Linked DNA regions of Homo sapiens: all the other regions are linked to region 1. The links are contacts of gene promoters, found by promoter capture Hi-C in human tissues and cell types (Jung and others, 2019). All regions are on one chromosome and are shown on one strand. The core of a region is centred on a gene start or on the middle of the fragment in contact, and the rest is flanking DNA. Distances in the headings are between cores, read along the strand shown. Region 1 holds the start of MC4R (melanocortin 4 receptor). Region 2 has its middle 59 kb from the start of MC4R. Region 3 has its middle 54 kb from the start of MC4R.

Region 1 (4,561 bases), core at 8-2,507:
CACAATATGGATTCTGAGGACAAGAGATGTAGAATATTAAGTGGAGGAAGAATGGGGCCCAGCAGACAACAAAGACGCCAATCAGGATGGTCAAGGTAATCGCTCCCTTCATATTGGCACCTTGGCGGATGGCACCAGTGCCGGGGAGGACAGCAATCCTCTTAATGTGAAGCCTGGCCATCAGGAACATGTGGACATAGAGAGAAGCCATGAGAGCCAGCATGGTGAAGAACATGGTGATGAGGCAGATGATGACAGCACTACTATCTGAGTAAATGATGAACAAAATGCCTGAAACCGTGCAAGCTGCCCAGATACAACTTATGATGATCCCAACCCGCTTAACTGTCATAATGTTATGGTACTGGAGAGCATAGAAGATAGTAAAGTACCTGTCCACTGCAATTGAAAGCAGGCTGCAAATGGATGCAAGCAAGGAGCTACAGATCACCGAGTCAATGACATTATCAATATTCACTGTGAAACTCTGTGCATCCGTATCTGTACTGTTTAATAGGGTGATGACAATGGTTTCTGATCCATTTGAAACGCTCACCAGCATATCAGCCACAGCCAAGCTGCAGATGAAAAAGTACATGGGTGAATGCAGATTCTTGTTCTTGGCTATTGCCACAATCACTAAGATATTCTCCAACAAGCTGATGACACCCAGAGTCACAAACACCTCAGGAGAGACAAAAAGTTGCTCGTAGCACCCTCCATCAGAGTAGCCTTTTCCAAGGGACTCACTGGCATTGCTGTGCAGTCTGTAACTGCTGCGGTTCCAGAGGTGCAGAGAAGTGTGCATCCCACGGTGGGTGGAGTTCACCATGCTGGCAGGAGAATTCCAGTGTCCCCCTGAATTGATTTAACCTCCTGGGTCAGGGAGTCGTCTCAGTTATTTCCTCCAAGTCTTTATCTGTCTGAAAGTTGTGAGGCTAAAATTGCCATGCCTGCTGTGAGTAAATGTCACAAGTCCAGAGCTTGACATGGAGTTTTTAGTCTCTTTTAGGTACGACTCTAATCATCATCACTTTAAAATCTTGGGCTTCAAAATATTCATTCTCAGTTGAAAGAGTCTGCTCTTTGCTTTCTTGTTCTCACTTCTGCTTTAACTTTAATCTTATGCATTCAAGTCTGTTCAAAATAATTTTCCTTGAAGCTGCCATGCCATTGGGAGACGAATCTGTGCGCACATGCTCACATCGGCTGCCTCTCGGAAGCTTCTGTTTCCAGCCTGAGCGTTGCTTTGAGTGTTAGGGGCTGTAGGCGCCAGCTGCTGATTTTTATGATGTGTGGAGAGAAAAAAAACATGTTCACGGTGGCTCCTCCTCTGCTTCCTTCTGACCAATCCCAATGCAATGGGAGTCTGTGAGACAGGATTATGTTTCAGAGACACAAATTGCAGGGTGACACAGATTCAGATGCAGAAGCTCCTGAAGTCTGAAGTCGAGAAGCAAGCCGGATAAGAGACTGAATTTCCCTTTTTAAGTTTTCAAGGGAAACAACTTGATCCCTAGAGGCCATTCTGTGATATCAAAACAAGCTATCTTCAGGCAGCCAGGTTCATTCTTATGTAAAAGACATCATGTGTGTGTGTAAAATGAAATGGAAAGTATACTGTCTTATGTTCCTGAAACAGATACTCTGCTTTTTGGCTAGGATACTGAATTTATTTACCTTCTTAATTTTTTGTTTTTATTAAGAACCCAGCCAGTAGTGGTTCAGTTAAAATACCTGAAAAACAGAGAGGATATTTAATGATACAGATAGACATGGTATGGCTGGAAGAACTATGTAGGTAGCTATAAATTATGAATGGGTTCAAAAGGGGTTGATTTTAATGCACTAATATCCCATATTTCTCTATTGAGGAGTTTGTGTTATAGCTGAAAAAAGGTGCTTTTTATTTACAATATTTTAAACTCATACGGCATTAATGTAACTATGCTTACACTGAACTCAGGAAAATAATAAGCTGCATTCTGTTTTTTTTTTTTAAGCAACTTTTTTTTAAACCTCCAGAGTTTAACGTATCGTAAGTTGAACCGACAAATACCTAGTAACTTTACTTATCAAGCCAAGACTGGTGATACTAGTTAGTTATTGAAGTTTCTGAATATTTTGCTTAAGGTGGTTTGAAAGATGGCAGCAAAGTTACTTTCCAAATTAACTGAACAACAGATTATACAAAATTTTGTATATTCTTTTCTTCTATGATTATTTTTGGTTTTAGTGCTCTATAGTTTGTAGCTGCTTATTTCAGGGTTAATTCTGAATCTCAGTTACTTAGGTTGGGAATGTATCCTCTTTCCTTTTGTGACAGAGACAATACTAAGTATTGTTCCTGAGCATTGAGATAAATTAACGTCTTCCATCCACCTTTGGAATTGGGTAGGACCTTATGACTAAATTCTAGCTAATGGCATGTTGACAGTGGGGCTCATCGCATTAGCTCTTTCATAATTTTACACAAGTTTTCTCTCCTGTCTTTGAAATCTCATGTTACAGGTGGCAGGACCATATCATGAAAGGAGCCTGTCTCTTGAATGATTGCACAGAGCAGAACTCACACCTCCAACTCCCTTCCCCTGTATTTCTGAATGCCTAATCATCTGTATATTGTAAAATGCTGGAATGGGCTTTCCTGAACATCATGAGCTGGAAATAATCTTACCTTCCTCTTGCCTTATTTTTTCTCTTTTTAAAAATTGACATATAATTCACATACCAAAAAAAATCACCTCTTTAGTAATTAAATGGATTTTTGGGGGAATATATTCACAGAGTTGTGCCATAATCATCACTTTCTATTTCTAAAACATTTTCATTATCCCATTAGCAGTTGCTCCCCATTTTACCCTTTCCTTATCCTCTAGGAACTGCTAATCTACTTTCTGTCTCTATCAATGTGCCTATTTTAGACATTTTATATGATTGAAATAATGCAATATGTGGCCTTTTGTGGCTCACTGTTTTCATGTAGCATAATATTTTCAAGGTTTGCTTACACTATAATGTGAATCAGAATTTGATTTTTAAAAAATTAAAACAGGATCTTGCTCTGTCACCCAGGCTGGAGTGCAGTGGCATGATCATGGCTCACTAGGTTCAAGTGATCCTCCTACTTCAGCCTCCTGAGTAGCTGGAACTAAATGTACCTCCACACCCAGCTAGCTTTTAAAAAATAATTTTGTAGAGATTGAATCTCATTATGTTGTCCAGGCTGGTCTCAAACTCTTGGGCTCAAACGATATTCCCATCTCGGTTTCTCCAAGTGCTGAGATTACAGGCATGAGCCACTGTGCCCAGTTTTGATTTGTTTTTATGGCTGAGTAATATTCCATTGTATGTATACATTTATATATATATATATTTTTTTTTTTTTTTTTTTTGAGACGGAGTCTCGCTCTGTCACCCAGGCTGGAGTGCAGTGGTGCAATCTCAGCTCACTGCAAGCTCCGCCTCCTGGGTTCACGCCATTCTCCTGCCTCAGCCTCCCAAGTAGCTGGGACTACAGGTGCCCGCCACCGCACCTTGCTAATTTTTTGTATTTTTAGTAGAGACGGGGTTTCACCGTGGTCTCGATCTCCTGACCTCATGATCCGCCCGCCTCGGCCTCCCAAAGTGCTGGGATTACAGGCATGAACCACTGCACCTGGCTGTATACATTATATTTTTAAATGTATTCATCAGTTGAGGAACATTTGGGTTATTTCCAGTTTTGGCTATCACGAATTATGCTGCTAGGAATATTTATGGACAAATTCTTATGTGACAGATGATTTCAATTCTTTTGGATACACAACCAGGAATGGAATTGCTGAATCATATGATAACTCTGTTTCTTGTTTTGAGGAACTGCCAAACTGTTTTCTGAAGTGGCTGCACCATTTGACATTTCCAGTTAGCAATGTATGAGGGTTCAAATCTCTTCACATTCTTGCTAGCACTTGCTATTGTCCATCTTTTTTATTTTAGCCATCATAAGGATATGAAGTGAACTCTCATTATACTTTTGATTTTCATTTCCCTAATGCCTAATGATACTGAAGATGATTTTACATCCTTACCAGTTACTTGTGTAATAATCTTTGGAGAAATGCCTATTCAAATCCTTTGCTCATTTTTAATTGGATTTTTTTAAATTATTGAGTTGTAGTGGCTCTTTACATATTCTGGGTACTTTTGCCATTTCAATTATTGATAGTGTTCTTGAAACCACAAACCTTTTAATTACGATGATGTTAAATTTATCAAATTTTTTTGGTTGCCTGAGCTTTTGGGATCATATTTAAAAAAGGATTGCCTAACCCATGGTTATTAAAGTTTACACTTATATTTTGATATCTTCTGTTTGATGAGAAATTGTTCTCATAATTTCCTTTAATTTTTACGTATAGTTTTCGCTAATCCTTTGAACATGTTTGAACTGATTTAAAGGCTTTATATATTAAGTGCAACATCTAGACTTCCCCAGGAATAATTTCTGCTGACTTCCTTTTCCTAATGTGTATGGGCTATATTTTCTTATTTATTTGCCTGCATTTTATTTATTCAT
Region 2 (4,244 bases), core at 156-2,655, 59 kb before region 1:
AGCATGAAAGATATTTGCTTAGAGGAAGTAGTTGGTGAAAATGCTCTGAGTCTTTTTGTTGCTCAACAAGGGAACTTTTGGCAAGTTAACAGTGAGCAGGATTATCTTTCTTTAGAAAACAATTTTATAAATTGAATGCTATCTAAGAGCTCATTAGGGGACTATTTGGCATGTGAAATGCATTTTTTAAAAAAGTTTAGTTTGCAAGGCAACAAGCCTAATTTAATGCAAAATATAGGTGAAATATTATACCTTAGCAATTAAAATAGTGAAAAGATTTATATGTGAAAGTTGACATGCATATTGACATTTTACATATTACTTTTATGTTTATGTGAAGGTAGAAAAGAGAAAGAGAAGTGAAAGAAGAGAAAGAAGAAAAAAGTGAAAAAATTATTATAAATAATATTTCAAACAGCATTTTAATTCCATATATTCCTATTTCCTCAAAGGTTCCTGAAGATGACTCTTGTACTCTCCTGGCCAATTTAGCCCTACCTCTAGTGTTATCTCGTTCTGTAGTCTTTGTACTTGTCTTCCATTTCAAACCTTTTCCAAAACCTATGTCAAAATAGGTTTTCTTATCTTGAAAATAGATTGGGGATCACAGCACTATTTTTTTTACACCTAGAAAGTAATTTGTTTGGCTATGAAGACATGAAGTAATTAGTATTACTTGAAATAATGTCTAGTTTCTACCTTATGAAAAAACATTATCTTTTAGTTTGATTAAAAAACATACAAATTGGCCCTTGAATAATGTGGGTTTGAACTGCTCAGGTTCACTTACACACACATTTAAAAAAAAGAAAAGAGTTACACCAAGTGTTCCTGCTTCTCCTGCCTCCTTTTCACCTCCTCTACCTCTTCTACTGCAGAGATAGCAAGACCAAGTCCCCCTCTTTCCCCTCCCACTCATCCTACTCAATGTGAAGGCAATGAGGATAGAAACCTTCATGATGATCCACTTCCACTTAATGAATAGTAAATACATTTTCTCACCTGTTTGATTTTATTAGTAACATTTTCTTTTTCTAGCTTGCTTTATTGTAAGAATACAGTATATAATATGTATAACCTACAAAATATGTGTTAACTGGCTACTGATATTATCGGTAAGGCTTCCAGTCATCAGTAGACTATTAATAGTTTAGTTTTGGGGGAGTTAAAAGTTATACACAGATTTTGAACTGCAAGAGGGTAGGTACTTCCTAACCCCCTTGTTGTTCAAAGGTCAACTGTACATCCTTTTCATAGAAAAATGTAGAAATATATCAAAAAAAGATGATAATTTTTAACCTTGTTTTGTGTTTGTATTTGTCATACTTTTATAAAAATATACCTACACAATTTATTTTTAAAGAAAAAATGAGATTCTGCTATTCTATTGAGTCTAGAACCATCAATTATTAAATATAATTTTTCTTGTGCTGTTAAGAATGCCACTGTATTACAATGCTTTAAAAAAATCTTAGATTTTTAATAACTCTTTTTGAAAGAACTTGTTATTTAGACATATAATTTTAAAAGGCTGAATAATATTCCATTATAGTTTCTTCATTCATCTGTCAACAAACTCATCAGTTGTTTTTGTATGTTGGCTATTGTGAGAAATGCTGCAATGAACATGGGAGCACTGGATCATATGGTAATTCTATTTTTAATTTCTTTGGGGACACCCACACTGTTTTCCACAGTGGTCACACCAATCTACATTCCCACCAAGAGTGTACATGTGTTTCCTATCTCTCTATTCATACAAACACTTGTTATTTCTTGGCCTCTTGATAAAAGCCATCCTAAAAGGTGAGAGATGATATTTCATTGTTGTTTTGATTACATTTCCCTCATGATTAGTGATGTTGAGCACCCTTTAATATACCTATTGGCAATTTATGTGTCTTCTTTGGAAAAATGTTTATTCAGATGCCAATTTTTAAACTGGGTTACTTGTGGATTTTTTTGTTTACTTTGTTTGCTATTGTTTGTTATATAATTTGGATATTAACCCCTTATCAGATATGTGGTTTGCCAATATTTTCTCCTAATGTGTAAGCTTCTTTTTCATTTTGTTGTTTGTTTCCTTTGTTGTATGAAAGCATTTTAGTTTGATGTAGCTGTAAATATTAAATATGCATTCTTAAATATTTTAAAATCAATAATTCATAATATGCTATGATGTGTGTTCTGTTATATAATCCACATTCTATTATTTAAGCATTTGGGCTCTTTTGATCTTTCATCATAGAAGCAATGCAGTAATAAGAATACTTTTAAGAATGTGCATATTTTCAAATTGCTTCTATAAAGATGGTTCCAGTTTACATTTCTATTAGGAATAATATTCATCCTCTATTAGTGATCATAAAGTCTTCTAATTGATATCTACTTTATATTTCTTTTAAAGTACACTTTTCTGCTAATGGTTTGTGCCTTCCTTTCCAGTTTGGAATATTGGTCTCCTTACGGAAAATACAAAGGCTAATTAGTTATTTTGTAACATAGTTTTTAATGTAATATAACTGTTCAATTGTTTCTTTTCCTACTCAAAGGTTTAAATTCTCCTTCCCTCTCTCCCTTTCTCCCTTCCTTCTTTCCTTTCTTTTTCTATTTTTGTTTAAACTTCTAGCTCTCTTATACATCCCTTTCATTCCATGGAATCGGACTCATGCCTGTATATTTCCAAGATTTATCTATTTCCAAGAATCAGACAAAGGATTAACAATTTATCTCTTTCCAATAAATATTTGAGAAAAGTGAAAAGTTAATTTTACCTTAATTAACTTTAATCAGTTAATTTTTACTTTTTTATATTTAAGACATGACAAATTATTGATAGTTCTAAAGAAAAGTAAAAATATAAAAGTCTAGGGCTGTTTCACATGCTAACTGAGCACCTCAGTTTGACACTTAAAGAATTTTTAATTAACTGGGCTGATGTGAAAATAAAATGAATAATAAAGTCGTGCTGGCAATTTATAATTTTTCAAGCAACTTACAAGAAATTTAAAATAGCTGTAAATCAAGGTAAGTTTATCTCTCCAAGCTGTGTCTGTATATTAATTTCAAATGACAGAAAAATAGATATTTTTTTTGCTGTACTACACACACACACACACACACATATACCCAAATACTTGGCTCTGCTTTCAGAATTTTCTCTCAGTCTAGTAGTATTCTGTAGATTGGGAAAGATGAAACAAAAAATATGGGAGTGTCAAAAACATGTAAGTGGTAAAATAGATCCATCATAGCATATATTTGAAGAATAGTATATTATATCTGCAATAAATGGGTAATTTTTTTCCTTTTTGTAAAGTTTTTCAAATATTCTTATATTTATAGGATATAAGAGATGTTATAACTGCATTATTAAAAGAAAGAGATCTGAAGATGGACCTGGGTTCAGATATAGGTCAATTCTGAATGGCCTGGCCATGCCATTCAACTTGTCAAAGCCTCACATTTTTTATGTATGCAACAAAGGATACCACCAGCATCCCACAGGGTGGCTGAGAAAGTTGAATGTGATGTTTCATAGACAGCACTCATTTTAGAGGTTAATACATAAGAGGTGTTCAACCATTATCCCTTTTGATGATCACGGTTATTGTTGTTAATGGAGGAAGTGAAATGATGGTTTGAGGATTCCTTCTTGCTTTCTGAGGAGGGAAGCCTGTATTACATTTGGTACAGGAAAATTGCAGGTATAGGAACTTTCTAAACCATGGGTGGTCCTACAAATATATAGGTTGGACATGTACAGAATCACATTTTTGCTTCAGTTAAACATCTTGTTCCTATCCCAGCCTTGTTTGGTTGGGTAAATACCAATCTGATAATAAACACATTTGAACAAACAAACTACCCCTTACACAAAATACCTGAATGTGAGAAGCTGTTCAGAAAATATAACCTTAAATTACTTGCAGCAGAAATATTATAAAAAGAGTTGAGGAGAGTTCTATGTAAGCAAGAGTGGATGAAGGAATTGTAGTCCATTTGCTCTTGTAGATTTAGCAGATTTACTAGACCAGTAATTGTCAAGAAATTGTCCTCATAGGAGAAGAGGGTCCTTCATGGACAGAGAATTTTGTCTATGACTTTCAGCCCTTCAGCCATTCAATCCAAATTTATTGACCTAGGAAAGGAACAGCACCAACTGCCTAGAACAAGAAAATAATTGTTTAGTTAGAGTTAAAAAGCAGAGTTTTACAAGTCTACAGTGGGACAATCCCACTGAT
Region 3 (4,093 bases), core at 1,167-3,666, 54 kb after region 1:
GGAGATTATCTGAGGGTAGGGAATTATGGTCTTATTTTCCAGTAAGAGTGATTAGGGTATCTCATATATTTTAAGACAGTGGTTACTTACATTTGATCTTTCTACTTGTTCTTGTTGATTTATTACACTATTGTAACCATGTATATATATGTATATTTAAGATATACAGTGGTATATTTAGTGTGTGTGTATAGTGTGTGTGTATATATATATATATATACACACACACTATATACTGTATTTTATATAAACATACTAAATACTTAGTATTTAGTATATATTTAGTATATTAATATACTTAGTCTATACTAAGTATATGTAGTACATCATACTAAGTATATTATACATAGTATATAATATTAGGTATATTTAATATATACTTACTACATTTACATATAGTATATATAGTATAGTATATGTATATATGTATACACTAAATATACCATCGTATATCTTAAATATACATAATAAAATTCATCTTGACAAAGACATTGATGAATGTATCCTACTCTTCTGAGATCATATTGCCTCTTACAGGATTTGTTGTTTCAATTATGTAGCATGCTCATATAATTCTCTATTGATTACTAAAATAAGATGCTCAGATGTTCTCTATGGTAAAATTGCCTAAAATACTTTCCTTGGTTTTAGGCAACTATGCCTGACCCTCATCCTATACCAAATAAATTAAATAATGGTAGATGGGGTCCAGGCATAGGTATTTTCTTCAAAAGCTTTCAACTGGGGCCATGTGCAACAGCTCACGCCTATAATCTTAGAGTACTTTGGAAGGCCGAGGCTGTTAGATTGCATGAGCTCAGGAGATCAAGGTTGGCCAGGGCAAAACCCCATCTCTACTAAAAATACAAAAATTAGCTAGGCGAGATGGCATACACCTGTATAGTAACAGCTACTTGGGGAGCTGAGGCAGGAGGATCACTTGAACCCGGGAGGTCGAGGCTGCAGTGACCTGAGATCACGCCACTACATTCCAGCCTGGGGGACAAAGTGAGACCCTGTCTCAAAAAATAAATAAAAAGAAAAAAAGAAATAGAAAAGACTTCAGGTGACTGCAATGTGCACCTAGGGTTAGGCTAAGCTTTTAAGTTTCCTTCCTATTTTTAGTAGGCTACTTGCTTCCATCTCATCTATGTGCCATCAGTCTAGAATACATGCTCTAGAATTCCCTCCCTCATGCCTTGATAAAACTTCCAATGGCCCTCTTTCCAGGACCAAGAGCTAATATCCTAAGAGAGAAATTCTGGAAATATGGAGGACAGAAGGAGACTACTTTCCTCTCTACTCCTAAGTTATGTATGTCTCTTGAGCTGAAAAATGTCTCTAGTTTTGTTAACTAAAAATCTCTGTCTCTCTGAATACTGGCCCATGATTCCTGCCCTTTTGTGTTTGGGTTAAATCCTGTGACTAGTTCTGGCAGAGTCATGAACAGAAGAGCTCCATGCAAATTCCAGATCAGAACATTTCATTGCTTGTGTGAGGCTCTGTGTAGCTCAAAAATCAAGACATGGTTCACACTCATCTTAAGTTCCAGAGTGAGGGAAATCAGAACTCCCAGCCAACCTGCTATAGAGATGTATTCTGAGAAAGATAGATGCATTTAAGCCCCTGATATTTTGAAGATGATTTTTAACACAGCATAATTTAGCCCATTGGGACTGAGGAATGAGGTTAAATAACTTCTCGGTCCTGTTGGCAGCTAGATAAAAGTGAAGCGTTGGGATCTGTAGGGTACCCGAGGAGATAAAGACCATGGGGCTTTTGCCTCCATAAGTCAGGCAAGTGTTTGGTGATTAGCATCAGAAACTATGGAACAAAATCTGGGAATATGCACATCTTTGTGATGAGCTTATCTCTCTAAAAATCTGTGAACACTCTGGAGGGCTGGAGGAGAATGTTAACTTCGGCTCTGTGAGTGTCTACCTTGTTTATCTTGTTTTCAAGTGGCTAAGGGGGTACTGAAAATGTGGGTTGAATTTTCTCTGTCTCTGATATAATATGAAAACAAGCTTCACTAGGTGTTTAAGTAGGGAACAAGTAGCTTAGTTCTATCTTAATGGCCAGTGGGAGTAGAAATTTACTTACGAAGGAAAATGAATAAATTATCATGGGACTTTTTATCTGCATTGTAGGTAGCTAGAAGACAACGGACTACGAAAAAGACTGTCAAAACCAATGTTACCATTAACTGGTCAGAATATGCAATAATACCTAGAAAATTTATCATTAATGTGTATGCTATGAGGTAGAAGAATAAACAGAAATTTCTAAATAAAACACTAAATCAATTCTAGCAGGTGAACTGCAGAGTGAACCTTGATGTACTATCTTTAGGTCAATGCTTAAAGATGACTATTTGGAAATGTCTAAAATAACTGCTAAATAGGGATGTAAAATAGAGGGAGATTTTGCGTGGAGAATTTAATAAACAAAATCTGAAACTACTTAACTAGTCAAGTTTCTAAGATTTGGAAATACGTATAAAAATGGGAGTAAAAATCTTCCCAGGATTTCATCTAGTAGTAAAAAGGGAAGAGATAAAGAGATAATTGTAAGTACTGTAAAGATTTCCTATTACTTGTATCAAGGAAGTAAAGACAAATAGACTCTTTTAATTAGAGGAATATATATTCTCATAAGGGAAATATTGAATAACATGTTTCTATAATGCAGGAGATCAGGGAACAAGAAACCACCCATATTGAGAATGGAAAATTAGAGTGAAACTTCTGGATTAACCAGGGGAAAATGCAACGAATAGTTCCTTTTTCTTAACAGCAAAAAATAACTTAAAAATCACTGTAAAACAAATATTAAATAATAAAAGATGGAGAGACTAAAAGAATTTGTTTTAGTAATTAAGCTAAATGTAAACAGATAAGATTTTCCTTTTGAAAATTAGGGACTGTAACAGTACGTTACAAAAAGAAAATCCAACTTTGTTCACTTTATGAGATATTCATTTAAAACACAGCGATAGGGAAAGGCTGACCATAAAGGGGTGAATAAAGGGATACCAGATAAATACAAACAAACTAAAGCAAAAGAGGAAACATCAGTATCAGACTGATTAGAAGAAACTTAATGTTAAAAACATTGAAAATCAATTGATAAAAAGGCAAGTTTAGGAAGAAGATATAGCTGCACATGTCTGCGTACTCCAAACAAAAAACAGTGGAACCAAATAAATCTAAAAACAGATAAATCTATGAAAGTTTTGTTATAATGACACCAATTGATGTAGCTATCTCACAAGTAGAAAGGCCTTGCAGACAAAATTAAGGAGTGAGGTGGAGAAATCAAGTACTACAGTCAATAATCATGATTTTAAATAGGTACCTATAAGTTTAAATGGAAAATACTCTTAAGGTTCAAAAAACATTTGTAGAATTGGTGCCAAAATAAAACTTAACAAGTGAAAATAATAGAGAAATTACAGATCACATAATCTAATCATGATCCAATACAATTAAATAATTAAAAAATGATCGCAAACATTGAAACTACTTAGATATTGAGAATCATAGTCTCTTGGAAAGGAAGTTTTAAAATTGGAAATCATAAACCATCTAGAAAGCAATGAAATAAAGAACACATTATACCATAGGCCAGCCCTGGAAAAACTCAGTAGAACATTTATAGTTTAAATGTCATCATATTTTTTTAAAAAAGAGATAAATAAAACCAAAACAGGTATATATAACACAAACTTGGGAGCAAAGAAGAGCAAATAAGACTTTTTAAAAGGATGAAAATAATAAAATAAAACTGAAATTAATGAACTTGAAAATAAAAATAGTTGAAAGGCTTATCCAAAAGGTGTGTATGTAAAAATACAGATGCAAATACTTTGTGAGTCAGATTGTAAAAAAGATGTAAAAGTACAAGACAGTGAGTGCTTAAGGATATATAATGGCAAAGAAGAAGAGATCTGGAGAATCATAAAAGAAGACTTTGTGCAACTCTGTGACAATATAATCAAAATATTAGAGAAAATGTTTTCTGTCAAAATATAACTTATCTAAATTGGCATATACAGACATTTTAAAATAGGCTGATCACCAAAGAAGATATT

What was found. The method cuts DNA at HindIII sites, captures the fragments that hold promoters and counts their contacts. A contact is called where the count stands out against the background at its distance.
Region 2: a contact is called between a fragment that was not itself captured here and the fragment with the promoter of MC4R in region 1, in 4 of the 25 tissues and cell types used here (heart left ventricle, mesendoderm cells, spleen and 1 more).
Region 3: a contact is called between a fragment that was not itself captured here and the fragment with the promoter of MC4R in region 1, in 5 of the 25 tissues and cell types used here (dorsolateral prefrontal cortex, hippocampus, mesenchymal stem cells and 2 more).

The regions. Positions count from the first base shown.
Region 1 is chr18:60,371,518-60,376,078 of GRCh38, forward strand. MC4R (melanocortin 4 receptor) reads right to left here and starts at 1,258. Exons shown (of 1, transcript NM_005912.3): 1 at 1-1,258. The coding sequence starts at 832. The HindIII fragment of the contact is 8,670 bases long and covers 390-4,561 here.
Region 2 is chr18:60,312,099-60,316,342 of GRCh38, forward strand. No RefSeq gene overlaps it. Among named protein-coding and RNA genes, the nearest start is that of MC4R, 59 kb to the right of the region's middle. The HindIII fragment of the contact is 6,802 bases long and covers 1-4,244 here.
Region 3 is chr18:60,424,230-60,428,322 of GRCh38, forward strand. No RefSeq gene overlaps it. Among named protein-coding and RNA genes, the nearest start is that of MC4R, 54 kb to the left of the region's middle. The HindIII fragment of the contact is 6,143 bases long and covers 1-4,093 here.